Linked DNA regions of Homo sapiens: region 1 is linked to region 2. The links are contacts of gene promoters, found by promoter capture Hi-C in blood cells and fetal thymus (Javierre and others, 2016). All regions are on one chromosome and are shown on one strand. The core of a region is centred on a gene start or on the middle of the fragment in contact, and the rest is flanking DNA. Distances in the headings are between cores, read along the strand shown. Region 1 overlaps ILF3 (interleukin enhancer binding factor 3). Region 2 holds the start of ATG4D (autophagy related 4D cysteine peptidase).

Region 1 (7,546 bases), core at 2,722-5,221, 140 kb after region 2:
CCACTACCCTCAGCCAAAAGCTTGAATTTTCTTTGTCAAGTCATAAGAAGGTGGTATCAAGAATGAAAATAGTCGTGAGTGTCCTTGTAGATGTGCATTTGCAGCAAGTACATACGTTTAGATGCACCATAGGATACTGCACACTGACTGTTTCACTGCACACAGGGTTTATTCTACACTGGCTGCTCATCCCAGCATGGAAGTAGCAGTGGCTGGATGCCCACTCTGCAGTGTCCACCGCTTTCCCCGCAGCGTCTGTTTGAGGCTTCCAGCAGCCTTGTGGTGTAGTTCGTGTCATTAAGTCCATTATACAGATTAGAGTCTGTATGAGAGTGATTTATCCAAAGTTGATCAACTACTAAAGGGCAAAAGGGGGGTCTCCTCCTCCTGGCTCCTGGATCCGAAACTCTTTGCCATTGGTTTTTTTTTGGAGACTGAGTCTCACTCTTGTCACCCAGGCTGGAATGTAGTGGCGCGATCTCAGCTCACTGCAGCATCTGCCTCCCTGGTTTAAGCGAGTCTCCTCCTTCAGTCTTCTGAGTATCTGGGACTACACGCTTCCACTGCACCCAGCTAATTTTTGTATTTTTAGTAGGGATGGGGTTTCACCATGTTGGCCAGGTTGATCTTGAACTCCTGACCTGACCTCAGCTGATCTGCCCACTCAGCCTCCCAAAGTGCTGGGATTACAGGCGTGAGCCACCTCACCTGGCCTAACATTGCTTTTTTGTTTGTTTGTTTTTTTTTTTTTTTTTTTTTTTTTTTGGTTTTTTTTTTTTTGAGACAGAGTCTCGCTCTGTTGCCCAGGCTGGAGTGCAGTGGCATGATCTTGCCTCACTGCAAGCTCTGCCTTCCGGGTTCACGCCATTCTCCTGCCTCAGCCTCCTGAGTAGCTGGGACTACAGGCACCCGCCACCACGCCCAGCTAGTTTTTTTGTATTTTTAGTAGAGATGGGATTTCACCCTGTTAGCCAGGATGGTCTCGATCTCCTGACCTTGTGATCCGCCCACCTCAGCCTCCTAAAGTGCTGGGATTACAGGCGTGAGCCACTGCACCTGGCCTAACATTGCTTTTTTGTTTGTTTGTTGTTTTGTTTTTGTTTTTGTTTTTGAGATAGAGTCTCGCTCTGTCGCCCAGGCTGGAGTGCAGTGGTGTGATCTCAGCTCACTGCAAGCTCCGCCTCCCGTGTTCACGCCATTCTCCTGCCTCAGCCTCCCGAGTAGCTGGGACTACAGGTGCCTGCTACCACGCCCGGCTAGTTTTTTGTATTTTTAGTAGAGATGGTGTTTCACCGGGTTATCCAGGATGGTCTCGATCTCCTGACCTCGTGATCCACTCACCTCGGACTCCCAAAGTGCTGGGATTGCAGGCATGAGCCACGGCTCCCAGCCCTACCATTGCATTTTTAAGCACCGTTTGGAAATCGCTTCTTTCACTAGTTATCCCTCTTTCAAGTACCCAAAACGTGGCCAAAGACCTGGCCAATTAGAGAGACCCTGACATCCCAGGTGAAATCACTTCCGGGTCATCATACTCAAGACGTTGGCCTTTCTGTTGCAGGAATAGGTGGAGCCAGATAAAATTGTTGATTGCTTTGAGGAGAAAGTGTTTTGAAAGTTGCATTTTATTTTTTAGGCTGTAACAGAAGACAAGTACGAAATACTGCAATCTGTCGACGATGCTGCGATTGTGATAAAAAACACAAAAGAGCCTCCATTGTCCCTGACCATCCACCTGACATCCCCTGTTGTCAGAGAAGAAATGGAGAAAGTATTAGCTGGAGGTAGGGAGGCCGAGACACGCCGGCAGGACTTTGAAAATGTGGTGTTCCCTCACTATTCAAATGTGCTATTCAGTTTTAGACTGCTTTGGTATACGGTGTAGATTGACCACCTTTACTCTGAGATCACATCTCCCGTTGGCTTTGAGTACTTGGGAGTTTGACAAAACAGTCGCACTAAAAGTGAGTAGCACTTTTCATAGGGGACTGCACCATTTTCCTTTATCTTCATCCTTGAACGTTCTCAAACATGAATGTGGAAGTTGCTTTTCTATGGAGCCATTCTCTGGCTGTGGAGAAGTGTCCCTGGTGATTCCATGGTTTTAAAGATGAGACAACCAGATGGTTTCTGCATGAGCACCACGTTGGAGTTTACCAACAGCCTGTGCTGCAGCTGAGCTGAGGGCCTCTTCGTTTGTCCTCTGTCATGGCTCTTTTATCATTTAAAGTGACAGAAGCACAAAGAGCTGATACAGAGTTTTGGATAAAGTTTTAAACTGTTGTCCAATTTTTCAAACCACATCATTGGACCTCACGCTAATAATGTGCTCGCAGTCCATGGCCCGCCGCTCGCATGCCTGTCTTCAGGCCTTATCCAAACCCCTGGTGTGCAGATGGCAGAGAAGATAAACGCTCTGCTTGGCCGCAGCATAGGCTGGCATAGCGCCCTTGTTGCTGTTTACCTTTGGTTCTCATAGCTGATTCCGACTACCAAAGCCCTTCTAGTTGATCAACGTAGGGACGCTGGACCTTTGACCAACAGGACTCTCTCTGTCAAGGGCTGGGGCTAGGGCAGTCCCGCCTGGTGGGCGGAGTTGGTCCCCTTTGCTGCAGATGCCTTGGGATGGCTGTTGTGTGATGCAGAGAGGGAGTTCATTTCCTCTCCCTCGGCCTTTTTAAATTTTTTCCTATTGAACATTTTAGCATAGCTAATTTATTGGGAGAACATGGGGAGGAGGCAAGGGAAGAGGATTAGAAGATAGGCTCCACCTATCTCTCCCCTCCCTCATGAGATTATTCCTTTTAGAATAACTCCCCACTTTTGTTTTTATGTTTGTTTTATTTTTTCTTTTTCTTTCTTTTTTCTTTTTCTTTTTATTTTTGGAGGGGGCCTCCAATTTTTACAATTTCCTCACAGGGCAGAGTTGAATGTGCTCTAGTTTCTCCTTCCCTGGTCCAGGGTGGAGATGAATTCAGCTTCTGGGAAACTCAGCTGCCCTTTAGAAAGCTGCCACATCCCCTTTCCACCTGACAGAAACCCCTTGGTCAAACTGTGCCTTGTCTTCTTATTCCATCCATGAATAGAAACGCTATCAGTCAACGACCCCCCGGACGTTCTGGACAGGCAGAAATGCCTTGCTGCCTTGGCGTCCCTCCGACACGCCAAGTGGTTCCAGGTTTGCATTTTGTTCTTCTATTTGTCTTTTGGTAGAGAATTCCTAAGTTTTAACTTGGCTAACTGTCACCATAAAGATTCCTTAACATTGACGATAGCCGTGCCGAGCTTAGCACCTGCAGCTGCGCAGGTCCTAAAGGAGTGCACCTCAACAAATTCGACCCCAAAAGAGGCTGAGACTGAGTTGGTGGGCTGCTGCTGCTGCTGCTGCTTTGTGTTAAGAGTAACACTCTCTTGTACACGTAGTGACATTGCGGCTGGCCACAGCCTTGGTGGTCGCCAGTGTTGACTGTTTACCCTTGGCAAAGCAGCAACCTGACACTTGTGTCGTTCATGTTGACTTGTGCCCTGGGCGGTGCCTCAGACTGAAGAGCCTGTGTTTTGTTCCCCTAGGCCAGAGCCAACGGGCTGAAGTCTTGTGTCATTGTGATCCGGGTCTTGAGGGACCTGTGCACTCGCGTGCCCACCTGGGGTCCCCTCCGAGGCTGGGTAAGGCATGTTGCTGTGGCTACTGGGGGTGGTGTGTGCAGAGTCTTTTGGATATCCCAGGAACACTTGATGGTCACGGGGCAGGAGTGGCCTCTTGACGCGTGGCTGGTGTGTACTCTCCAGAGCTGCCTGTGGAGCTGCTCCTGCTTGCCACACCTGGGGTTGGGGTTGGGGCAGTGTGGGTCGGGGCCCTCTGCAGGGTCGCACAGCTCAATCCCAGGAGTGGGGGCTGACCAGGAGGTGGGAATGATCCCTCTGGGAAGGTTTGTAGATAGTCTCACGCAGGACCAGTTTTTGGCAGTTGCACCCTTTTTTTTTTCAGCTTGCAGTTGAGGTGGTTTTTATATTTGTAAATAAATGGTTAGATTTTAAGTAAGAAGTACTACATCATAACCTTAGCTTGGTCTCTGAGCTCACACAGCCTGCTAGGATGTCATGTCTGGTCCTTGAAGGCCCCTGTCCTAGATGCCCTGGCTCAGGCTTAGCCCTGAGGCTTTGACTTTACCCGACTGGTTGGCTATGAGTCCCACGTGTGCCCCGACCCACTCATGCAGTGACAGCTCCCCAGTGGCGGCCGGCCCCATCCTGTAGGCTCTTGGCTCACTGTCCCTCTTCCCTTTCAGCCTCTCGAGCTCCTGTGTGAGAAATCCATTGGCACGGCCAACAGACCGATGGGTGCTGGCGAGGCCCTGCGGAGAGTGCTGGAGTGCCTGGCGTCGGGCATCGTGATGCCAGGTTGGGGCCTTGTGCTTTGCAGGTTGCAGGGAAAGGACAGGGTTCCAGGCCGCCTCCTGGCGGGTACACTGACTGGGTTAGGACAGCAGCAGCCCCGTGTCCACCCCCTAGAGCTGAAGCATGTGACTACCCTCTGGCACCATCATATCCAGCCCTGACCGGGTCCGCAGCCGTCATTCAGAGGGCGGATCCGGGGCAGTGGTGACCCACTCCCACGTGACTTTCTTGCTCTGAGACACTTGTGAATTATTTCTGTCAAGGGCTGGACGCCGAGTGGGTCACCGAGCTAGGCATGTTTTCCAGAGCTGGGTGTGGATGGGGCGCGGGGGGTAACACACCTAGTTCCCTCAGCCAGCACACCTCTTCAGAGATGCTAAAAGATAATCCTCTGCATATCTTCCTTGTTTCCTGCCTTCAGATGGTTCTGGCATTTATGACCCTTGTGAAAAAGAAGCCACTGATGCTATTGGGCATCTAGACAGACAGCAACGGGAAGATATCACACAGAGTGCGCAGGTATAGTCATCGCCATTGCCAACGTGCGCCCTGACCCAGTCTGTAATCACTGGCTTCCAGTTCCATTACTGGGTATTCCCAGGGTAGCCCCTGGACTCGTAGGCTCAGGTCGGGGACTGAAGGCAAAAGGATTGTGTCTGATACAGGGCGCCCCAATCTGGGCTGCTTCTTTCCCCTGGTGCCATGCGTGGTTTTCATCTGCCCCCTCCCTTGGCTTGCTCGAGTGCCGTTTTCAGACACTGTGAGTGGTGCTGGGAGATGTGTTTGCTGTGCGGACTGCTCCGGGGGGACCTTCCCCTGCAGGCCCCCACATGGCTCCGTGTGGCAACCAGTCCCCAGGTTGGGGTCTCCTGTATTCCTTTGGAAGGGGGGTGGTCACAGGCTGGCCTTCCCCCACAGCAAGGCTGGGCTTGAGCAGTCAGGCTCTCCCCTGGCTGGTGGGGGACCCCTTGCTGTCGTAAGGGAGACCATTAGCAGCCCTTCAGCTCTGCCCCTCCTCAGAAGGCAGTAGTGAGCACACACTCCATGGCCGGGAGCACAGGGCAGCTGAGTCAGAGCCTCTTCCCCTTCTCCAGCACGCACTGCGGCTCGCTGCCTTCGGCCAGCTCCATAAAGTCCTAGGCATGGACCCTCTGCCTTCCAAGATGCCCAAGAAACCAAAGAATGAAAACCCAGTGGACTACACCGGTAAGCCTGCGGCGGTTGCCTGATGGCTGGGGCTCCAGGAAGAGTCACCATCTGCATCTCCCAGCCATGCCCTGGTCTCTCCTTGCAGTTCAGATCCCACCAAGCACCACCTATGCCATTACGCCCATGAAACGCCCAATGGAGGAGGACGGGGAGGAGAAGTCGCCCAGCAAAAAGAAGAAGAAGATTCAGAAGAAAGGTACAGGCCGGGCGCGGTGGCTCACGCCTGTAATCCCAGCACTTTGGGAGGCCGAGGCGGGAGAATCGCTTGAGCTCAGGAGTTTTGAGACCATCAGCCTGGGCAACATGGCGAAACCCCGTCTCTACAAAAAATACAAAAATTAGCTGGGTGTGGTGGCGCACCTGTAGTGCCAGCTACTTGGGAGGCTGAGATGGGAGGATGGCTTGAGCCTGGGAGGCGGAGGTTGCAGTGAGCAACTGTACTCCAGCCTGGGCAACAGAGCGAGACCTTGCTTAAAATCAGTGTTGAAAAATTTTAGAAGCTAAATAGGTAAAAAAGCAGGAAGGTGCAGACCTCCACTAGTGCTGCTGCTTTATCCATCTGGTCCTGTGAAGGCTCACCCTGAAGCTATGGGATGGCTGCTTTTGTTTCATTTTTCTCACTTGTGATTTCTGAGTCCTTTTAACAATGATGAGGCATGATTGGGGATGTGGAAGATGAGTAGGATGGTGGTGCTACAGCTGGAGGCCACAGGAGAGGTGCAAGCTGGGCTCAGTTTGTGTGGCTGCCCCACCCACTGTGTTACGCCACAGAGGCAGCCCTGGGGGTTAGGATTGGCAGAGCTCTCGTGGAGACCTGCCATCGTGCTGATCCAGAGCCACCTTGCTATTCTCTCTGTAGAGGAGAAGGCAGAGCCCCCCCAGGCTATGAATGCCCTGATGCGGTTGAACCAGCTGAAGCCAGGGCTGCAGTACAAGCTGGTGTCCCAGACTGGGCCCGTCCATGCCCCCATCTTTACCATGTCTGTGGAGGTTGATGGCAATTCATTCGAGGCCTCTGGGCCCTCCAAAAAGACGGCCAAGCTGCACGTGGCCGTTAAGGTGAGTGTGGCCAGCATCACTGTCTTCTAATAGCAGAACCATGGTCTTTGTTTTGGGCCCCTTCTGAGCCATTGTCTCTCAGGGAGGGCATGTAGATTCTAAAAATACACATGGTTAGATGGCGAGTATTTGCCAAGTCACGTGGCAAGAACGCCTTCCCACTGTGGCTGGCAGGCAGAGGGGTCCCCAAACATGATTGGGGCATTAGGGCCTCCTGGGAGCAGGAGCTGAAAGGAAACAGCCCTCCTCCAGATGGCTTCCCGGGTGGGTGCCTGTAGGCCATGAGGAGGCCCTGCATGCAGCCCTGCTTCACTGGGACCTTGGGGGTCTTGCCACCTCTGCAGGTGTTACAGGACATGGGCTTGCCGACGGGTGCTGAAGGCAGGGACTCGAGCAAGGGGGAGGACTCGGCTGAGGAGACCGAGGCGAAGCCAGCAGTGGTGGCCCCTGCCCCAGTGGTAGAAGCTGTCTCCACCCCTAGTGCGGCCTTTCCCTCAGATGCCACTGCCGAGGTGAGCACATGGTGGGCGCTGGGAGTGACTGCCTGGACAGAGCAGGCAGCCATGTGTCCTGTCAGTGAGGTGGTTACTGGTCCTTGTTAATTTGCCCCAAAAAGTGGACCTTTCAGGCCAGAAGTCCGCACAGGAAGCTGGGTGCTGCCCTCCGAGCCGTGTCGGGGAGGGCCTTGTGGATGTTGTCCCAGCATCCTATAGGCTACACTGGGGTGGCCTTGGGTTGATAACGTGCTGTTCAGAGGGGAGGCACAGGAAGGGGGCACATTGCTGGAAGGCCCTCACTAGAGTCAGTGGAGACTCTGGCAAGGGCTGGCAGTGTATGAAGAGCAGAGGCCCTGCCTCAGTCCTGCCACTCCTCCCATGTG
Region 2 (7,288 bases), core at 3,435-5,934:
CCTTATCTGAGCCATCTGGCTGCACAGTCTGTACTGAGTGCAGAATCCAAAGACCCCTGGGCCTACACTGGGCTCAAAGTGGTCAACTCCAATGGAATGCGGTTGTGTGTGCCCACGGTGCCAGCTACTCAGGAGGCTCAGGCAGGATCACTTGAGCCCAGGAGGTCAAGGCTGCCATGAGTCCTGATTGAACCACTGAACTCCAGCCTGGGTGACAGAGTGAGACTCTGTCTCGAAAATAATACACTTGGGCACAGTGGTTCATGCCTGTAATCCCAGCACTTTGAGAGGCTGAGGAGGGCAGATACCCTGAGGTCAGGCGTTCAAGACTAGCCTGGCCGACGTGGCGAAACCTGTCTCTACTAAAAATACAAAAAATTAGCTGGGTGTGGTGGCGCGTGCCTGTAATCCCAGCTACTCGGGAGGCTGAGGCAGGAGAATCACTTGAATCCATGAGGTCGAGGTTGCAGTGGGCCAAGATCGCGCCACTGTACTCCAGCCTGGGCAACAGAGTGAGACTCTGTCTCAAAAAAAAAAAAAAAGGGAATTGGGGTTGGACGCAATCTTGAGGGTGGGGCCCTCACACCATTCTCCTGCCTCAGTCTCCTGAGTAGCTGGGACTACAGGCGCCCGCCACCATACCTGGCTAATTTTTTGTGTTTCACTGTGTTAGCCAGGATGGTCTTTATCTCCTGACCTCGTGATCTGCCTGCCTCGGCCTCCCAAAGTGCTGGGATTACAGGCATGAGCCACCGAGCCCGGCTGAGACCAGGATGTCAAGGCTTCAGTGAGCCAAGATCATGATGCCACTGCACTCCAGTACTGGCAACAGAGTGAGACTGTGAGAAAAAAAAAAAAAAAAGAAAGGAAGGCAGGTGAGAGGATATAAGATAAGAAGAGAATCTCAGCTGGGCGCGGTGGCTCACGCCTGTAATCCCAGCACTTTGGGAGGCCAAGGCAGGCAGATCACCTGAGGTCGGGAGTTCGAGACCAGCCTGAGCAACATGGAGAAACCCTGTCTCTACCAAAAATACAAAAAATTAGCCAGGTGTGGTGGTGGGCGCCTGTAATCCCAGTTACTCGGGAGGCTGAGGCAGGAGAATCGCTTGAACCCGGGAGGCAGAGGTTGTGGTGAGCCGAGATTGCCATTGCACTCCAGCCTGGGCAAAAACTCCATCTAAAACAAAAAAACAAAACAAAACAAAAAATAGAAGAGAATCCCACCAAGAACCATGCTGGCACCCTGATCTGGGACTTTCTAGCCTCTAGAACTGTGAGAAGCAAAGGTGTGTTGTTTTAGCCCCCAAGGCTATGGTATTTGTCACAGCAGCCCAAGGGGATAAAGACAGTAAGGTTGTGATAACTACTCCCATGCGGCGGGGAGGGGGAAAAAGGCAGGGAAGAGAAGGAGACCAAGGATGGAGATGGGGGAGAATTTTGAGAGTGGTAATCTTCGTGTAGGGGTGATATTTGAATAAAGACTTGCGGCCGGGCACAGTGTCTCACGTCTGTAATCCCAGTACTTTGGGAGGCTGAGGTGGGTGGATTACTTGAGGTCAGGAGTTCGAGACCAGCCTGGCCAACATGGTGAAACCCCATTTCTACTAAAAATATAAAAATTAGCTGGGTGTGGTGGCACATGCCTGTAATCCCAGCTACTCAGGAGGCAGGAGGATCACTGGTGCCCAGAAGGTCGTGGTTGCAGTGAGTTATGATCGTGCCACTGCACTCCAGCCTGGGCAACAAAGTGAGACCCTGCCAAAAAAAAAAAAAAAGACCTGAAGGAGGTGACGGAGAGCCATGGTAAGAAACGTGGTCTGGGCAGAGGGAACAGCAAGTGCAAAGACTCTGAGGTGGCATTGGCTCTGTTGAGTTTGAGAAAGGGTGCACTTGGCTGGTTGCAGTGGCTCAAGCCTGTAATCCCAGCACTTTGGGAGGCCCAGGCGGGCAGATCACCTGAGGTCAGGAGTTCAAGACCAGCCTGGTCAACATGGTGAAACTCTGTCTCTACTAAAAATATAAAATTAGCCGGGTGTGGTGGCTCACACCTGTAATCCCAGCTACTCCAGAGGCTGAGGCAGGAGAATTGCTTGAACCTGGGAGGCGGAGGTTGCAGTGAGCTGAGATTGTGCCAGTGCACTCCAGCCTGGGCTACAGAGCAAGACTCTGTCTCAAAAAAATAAAATAAAATAAATCAATAAATTAATAAATTAATGAAAGAGAAAGGGGTCAATTGTGATTGAAGGCGACTGGGAGGAGAGGGGAAAAAAGGAAAGTCAGGGAGGTGACTGCCCCTTTTGTGCCTTCTCCTTCTTGGATCACACCCTCATTCAAATCTTTCTTACCTCCTTCAGAGAGCTGAGGACAGAGCCCCGGGGCTGGCCACTAGAGGCCACCCTCTCCATGGCTCACAGGGTCACTGCATTGTCATCATGCAGTTGGCTCTCACTGAGCCCCAACTGTTCCTCAAATACCACTCTAAGCACTTTACATTGGTAAGTTCAGCTCATTCCCATACATCTTTATGAGTTAGACACATTTAAAACTTTTTCCTGGCTGGGTGCAATCGCTCATGCCTGTAATCCCAGCACTTTGGGAGGCCGAGGCTGGCGGATCACCTCAGTCAGGAGTTCGAGACCAGCCTGGCCAACGTGGTGGAATCCTATCTCTACTAAAAATACAAAAATTAGCTGGGCGTGGTGGTGTGCGCCCGTAATCCCAGCTACTCAGGAGGCTGAGGCAGCAGAATTGCTTGAACCTGAGAGGTGGTGGTTGCAGTGAGCCAAGATCGCACTAGTGCACTCCAGCCTGGGCAACAAGAGCGAAACTCCATCTCAAAATAAATACATAAATAAATGAAAATAAAATAAAAAATAAAAATTGTCCCTGGCCAGGTGCAGTGGCTCATGTCTGTCATCCTAGAACTTTGGGAGGCTGAGGCTAATCGTTTCAGCCCAGGAGTTCAAGACTAGCCTGAGCAACACTGGGAGACTCTATCTCTACAGAAAAATTTTTAAAAATTAGCCAGGGGTGGCCAGGCACGGTGGCCCACGCCTGTAATCCCAGCACTTTGGGAGGCCGAGGTGGGCGGATCACGAGGTCAGGAGATCGAGACCATCCTGGCTAACACGATGAAACCTCGTCTCTACTAAAAATACAAAAAATCAGCCAGGCGTGGTGGCGGGCGCCTGTAGTCCCAGCTACTCGGGAGGCTGAGGCAAGAGAATGGTGTGAACCTGGGAGACAGAGCTTGCAGTGAGTCGAGATCGCGCCATTGCACTCCAACCTGGGCAACAGAACGAGACTCCGTCTCAAAAAAAAAAAAAAAAATTAGCCAGGGGTGGTGGCATGTGCCTATAGTCCTAGCTACTCAGGTGGCTGAGGCAGGAGACTTGCTTAAGCCTCGGCAGTTGAGACTGCAGTGAGCCATGATCAGGCCACTGCACTGTAGTCTGGATGACAGAGCAAGACCCTGTCTCAACAACAACAACCAAAATCTGTTTGGGCCTCGCAAGGTTAGAGAAAAAAAATTAAAAAATAAAATAAAATAAAATATTTTCCTGTAGTCTCAGCTACTTGGGAGGCTGAGGCAGGAGGATCACTTGAGCTAAGGAGTTTCAGGCCAGCCTGGGCAACATAGAGAGAACTTGTCTCTATAAAAAGTTAACTGATTACTTTTTAAAACAAAGAGGTTTTTTTTCAGCCTTATTGAGGTATAATAGACATATACAAAACCATGCAAATTTTAAGCGTACAATCTGATGAGTTTTCACACCTGTGAAGCCACTATTACAGTTAAGATACTGAATTTATCCACAGCTCCAAAAAATGTCTTCCTGCCTGAGGTGGTGGCTCACGCCTGTAATCCCAGCATTTGGGAGGCTGAGGCGGGAGGATCTCATGAAGCCAGGAGTTTGAGACCAGCCTAGACAACATAGCGAGACCCCTTATCTACAAATAAAATTTAAAAAATTAACCAGGCATGGTGGCTCCTGTCTGCGGTCTCAGCTACTCTGGAGGCTGAGGTTGGAGGATCAGAGTTGGAGGCTGCAGTGAGCTATGAAAGCGCCACTGCACTCCAGTCTGGACAACAGAGCCAGATGCTGTCTCGACAAAACAAACACTGAAAAAAACTTTCCTGGAGCACTTCATTCATCCCTCCCTCCCGCGCCTGCCTACCCCTGGATTTTTTTTCCCTGAGCATAATTCTCATGAAGATTCGTCTATGTTGTTGCGTGTATTCCAGCCCTATTTTGCACATGAGGAAACTGAGGCACAGAGAGGCGTGGCTTGCCCCGGAGGTCACACTAGTCGATTTGGTCCCAGGCCAGGGCGGGTTCTGGGTCGGCAGCCCGCGCAGGTGCACTCGGGAGGCGGGGCGGGCGCTGCAGGTGCGCAGTCAGTCTCACCTGGGCGCCTGCCAGGAGGTCAGTCCTGGGCCCTGGGGGGCAGGACTAGGGGCGGGGCCAGGGGCAGGGGTTCCCCAGCTCTGCTGCCTCCGATAAGGGCCTGAAGGGGCTGTCGCGCTCCTGGCGGTGTGATAAGGAGGGCGGGGGGAGGCCGCGGGAAGGCGTCGGGGTTTGAGGTCCCCGCCTGGCGACCCGGGATCGGGGCAGGAAAGGCGGCTGGGCGGGGAGAGGGCGGGGCGGGGCGTCTGGCTTGGCCACGCCCACCGTCATCCGGGGTCCTGGCCCGCTAAGATGGCGATGGCTGCGGTAGCAGCGGCGGCGGCTGTTGCCTGGCCCGGTACCCTGGGGACGGGGGCCGAGTAGCGCCTTCCCCGGGCCCCGTGAACCGGCTGCGGGTCGCCCTTGGGGGGCAGCGGCCGCAGCCCCCCACCTGGGCCCTCGGTCCGCCCTCCCGGCGCGTCCATGAACTCAGTGTCGCCGGCCGCCGCGCAGTACCGGAGCAGCAGCCCGGAGGACGCGCGCCGCCGGCCCGAGGCCCGCAGGCCGCGGGGTCCCAGAGGCCCAGACCCCAACGGCCTGGGGCCTTCCGGAGCCAGCGGCCCCGCTCTTGGCTCTCCCGGGGCTGGCCCGAGTGAGCCGGACGAAGTGGACAAGTTCAAGGCCAAGTTCCTGACAGCCTGGAACAACGTCAAGTACGGTGAGGAGGGGGCCCGGAGATCGTGGGGGTGTCGGGGGCCGTTGAGGAAAACCAGACCCCGGTCCTGCCAGTTATCCCACCCTTGTTCCCGTCCTGAGTCACCTGTGGGTCCCCTCCCTGCCCGGCCCAGGGTGGACCTGTGGCAGGTCCAATAGTGTTTTCAAGCCCCGCCCATTCCCCTGTGTGACCTTGGGCAAGATCCTTTGCTTCCTGGCGCCTCCGTTTTTGCCCCTCTCTGTAAAATGGGTACAATAATCAGAACTACCTTCCTTCATCCTGAATTGATGGTGGACACTCCTGTAGCTGTCACTGGGGGCCCCACCTCCGACGGAATCCCCGGAGCCACCCCGGAGATAGGAACTAGGATCGTGCCCATTTCACAGATGGGGGAATGGAAGCGCTGTTGCTGTCATGCAAGTGCTTCATCTCGCTGGGCGCTGCCCCTACGTCTCCCCAGGTTGGGTGGTTAAAAGCCGGACCAGCTTTAGCAAGATCTCCAGCATCCACCTCTGTGGCCGCCGCTACCGTTTCGAGGGCGAGGGTGAGCTGGTGGTTGGGACCAGGGCTGGGGGAGGCCTCTCCACGCCCGCCGGAGTGTCCCTGGTGGCAGCTGACAGACCCGCTCTTGTAGGTGACATACAGCGTTTCCAGCGGGACTTTGTGTCCCGCCTGTGGCTCACATACCGCCGGGACTTCCCGCCCCTTCCTGGGGGCTGCCTGACCTCGGACTGTGGCTGGGGGTGCATGTTACGCAGCGGCCAGATGATGCTGGCACAGGGCCTTCTGCTGCATTTCCTGCCCAGAGGTGAGCCATAGGGGGGAAGGGGTGCACTAGGAGTACAGGGTCAACTGCCATATCAGCAGTATTAGAATTACTTACCAACTAAGAGTTCAAAGTCACGTTAGAATTGTGTGTCAAGTAAGTTTTGGAGAGATGAGAGTTGTTTATAAGAGTTTCAGCCGGGGTTGGAAACGGTGGCTCATGCCTGTAATCCTAGCACTTTGGGAGGCTGAGGCGGATGGATCCCTTGCGGTCAGGAGTTCAAGACCAGCCTGGCCAATATGATGAAACCCCATCTCTACTAAAAATACAAAAATTAGCCGGTTGTGGTGGCACACGCCTGTAATCCCAGCTACTCCCGAGGCTGAGGTGGGAGAATCTCTTGAACCCAGGAGGCGGAGGTTACAGCAAGCCAAGATCGCACCACTGCACTCCAGCCTGGGCAACAGAGGGAGACTCTGTGTCAAAAATAAAAATAAAAAAAAGTTTCACCAGGCACGGTGGCTCATGCCTGTAATCCCAGCACTTTGGGAGGCTGAGGCTGGTGGATCATGAGGTCAGGAGTTCAAGACCAGCCTGGCCAAGATGGTGAAACCCCATCTCTACTAAAAATACAAAAATTAGCTGGGTGTGGTGGCAGGCACCTGTAATTTGGCAAGGTAAAGCAGAGAATTGCTTGAACCGGGGAGGCGGAGGTTGCAGTGAGCCGAGATCCGTGCCACTGCACTCCAGCCTGGGTGGCAGAGCGAGACTCAGTCTCAAAAAAAAAAAAAGAGTTTTGGCTGGGCACTGTGCTGCATGCTTGTAATCCCAGCTACCTGGGAGGCTGAGGTGGGAAGATTGCTCGTGCCCAGGTGTTCAAGTCTGCAGTGAACTATGATCCTGCCACTGCACTCCAACCCGAGTGACAGAATGAGACTCCAACAATAACAGGTCGAGTGTGGTGGCTCATGCCTGTAATCCCAGCACATTAGGAGGCTGAGGCAGGAGGATCGCTTGAGCATAGGCATTCGACACCAGCCTAGGCCACATGACAAGGCTCCTGTCTCTACAAAAAAATTTTAAAAATTAGCTGAGTGTGGTGGCATGTGCCTGTGATCCCAACTACTCAGGAGGCTGAGGCGGGAGAATCTGTTGAGCTCAGGATTTAGAGGCTGTAGTGAGACGTGATTGTGCCACTGCACTCCAGTCTGGATGACAGTGAGATCCTGTCTTTATTTATTTATTTTATTTATTATTATTATTATTTTTTTTTTTGAGACTGAGTCTTCCTCTATCATCCTGGCTGAAGTGCAGTGGAGAGATCTTGGCTCACTGCAACCTCTGCCTCCCAGGTTCAAGCGATTCTCCTGCCTCAGCCTCCTGAGTAGCTGGGATTACAGGTGCCCGCCACCACGCTTG

What was found. Contacts are between HindIII fragments. The CHiCAGO score rates a contact against its expected background, and 5 or more counts as called.
Region 1: a contact is called between a fragment that was not itself captured here and the fragment with the promoter of ATG4D in region 2, in 9 of 17 cell types (M0 macrophages, neutrophils, M1 macrophages and 6 more). The highest score is 9.1, in M0 macrophages.

Annotation. Positions count from the first base shown.
Region 1 is chr19:10,675,527-10,683,072 of GRCh38, forward strand. ILF3 (interleukin enhancer binding factor 3) reads left to right here. Exons shown (of 20, transcript NM_017620.3): 5 at 1,637-1,784; 6 at 3,087-3,178; 7 at 3,571-3,666; 8 at 4,290-4,401; 9 at 4,820-4,917; 10 at 5,493-5,604; 11 at 5,693-5,803; 12 at 6,467-6,666; 13 at 7,011-7,178. Among named protein-coding and RNA genes, the nearest start is that of QTRT1, 22 kb to the right of the region's middle. The HindIII fragment of the contact is 7,906 bases long and covers 19-7,546 here.
Region 2 is chr19:10,539,220-10,546,507 of GRCh38, forward strand. ATG4D (autophagy related 4D cysteine peptidase) reads left to right here and starts at 4,685. Exons shown (of 10, transcript NM_032885.6): 1 at 4,685-5,106; 2 at 5,564-5,647; 3 at 5,738-5,911. The coding sequence starts at 4,872. RefSeq lists silencers at 4,401-4,450, 4,461-4,800, 4,851-5,030 and an enhancer at 5,076-5,671. The HindIII fragment of the contact is 8,842 bases long and covers 1-7,288 here.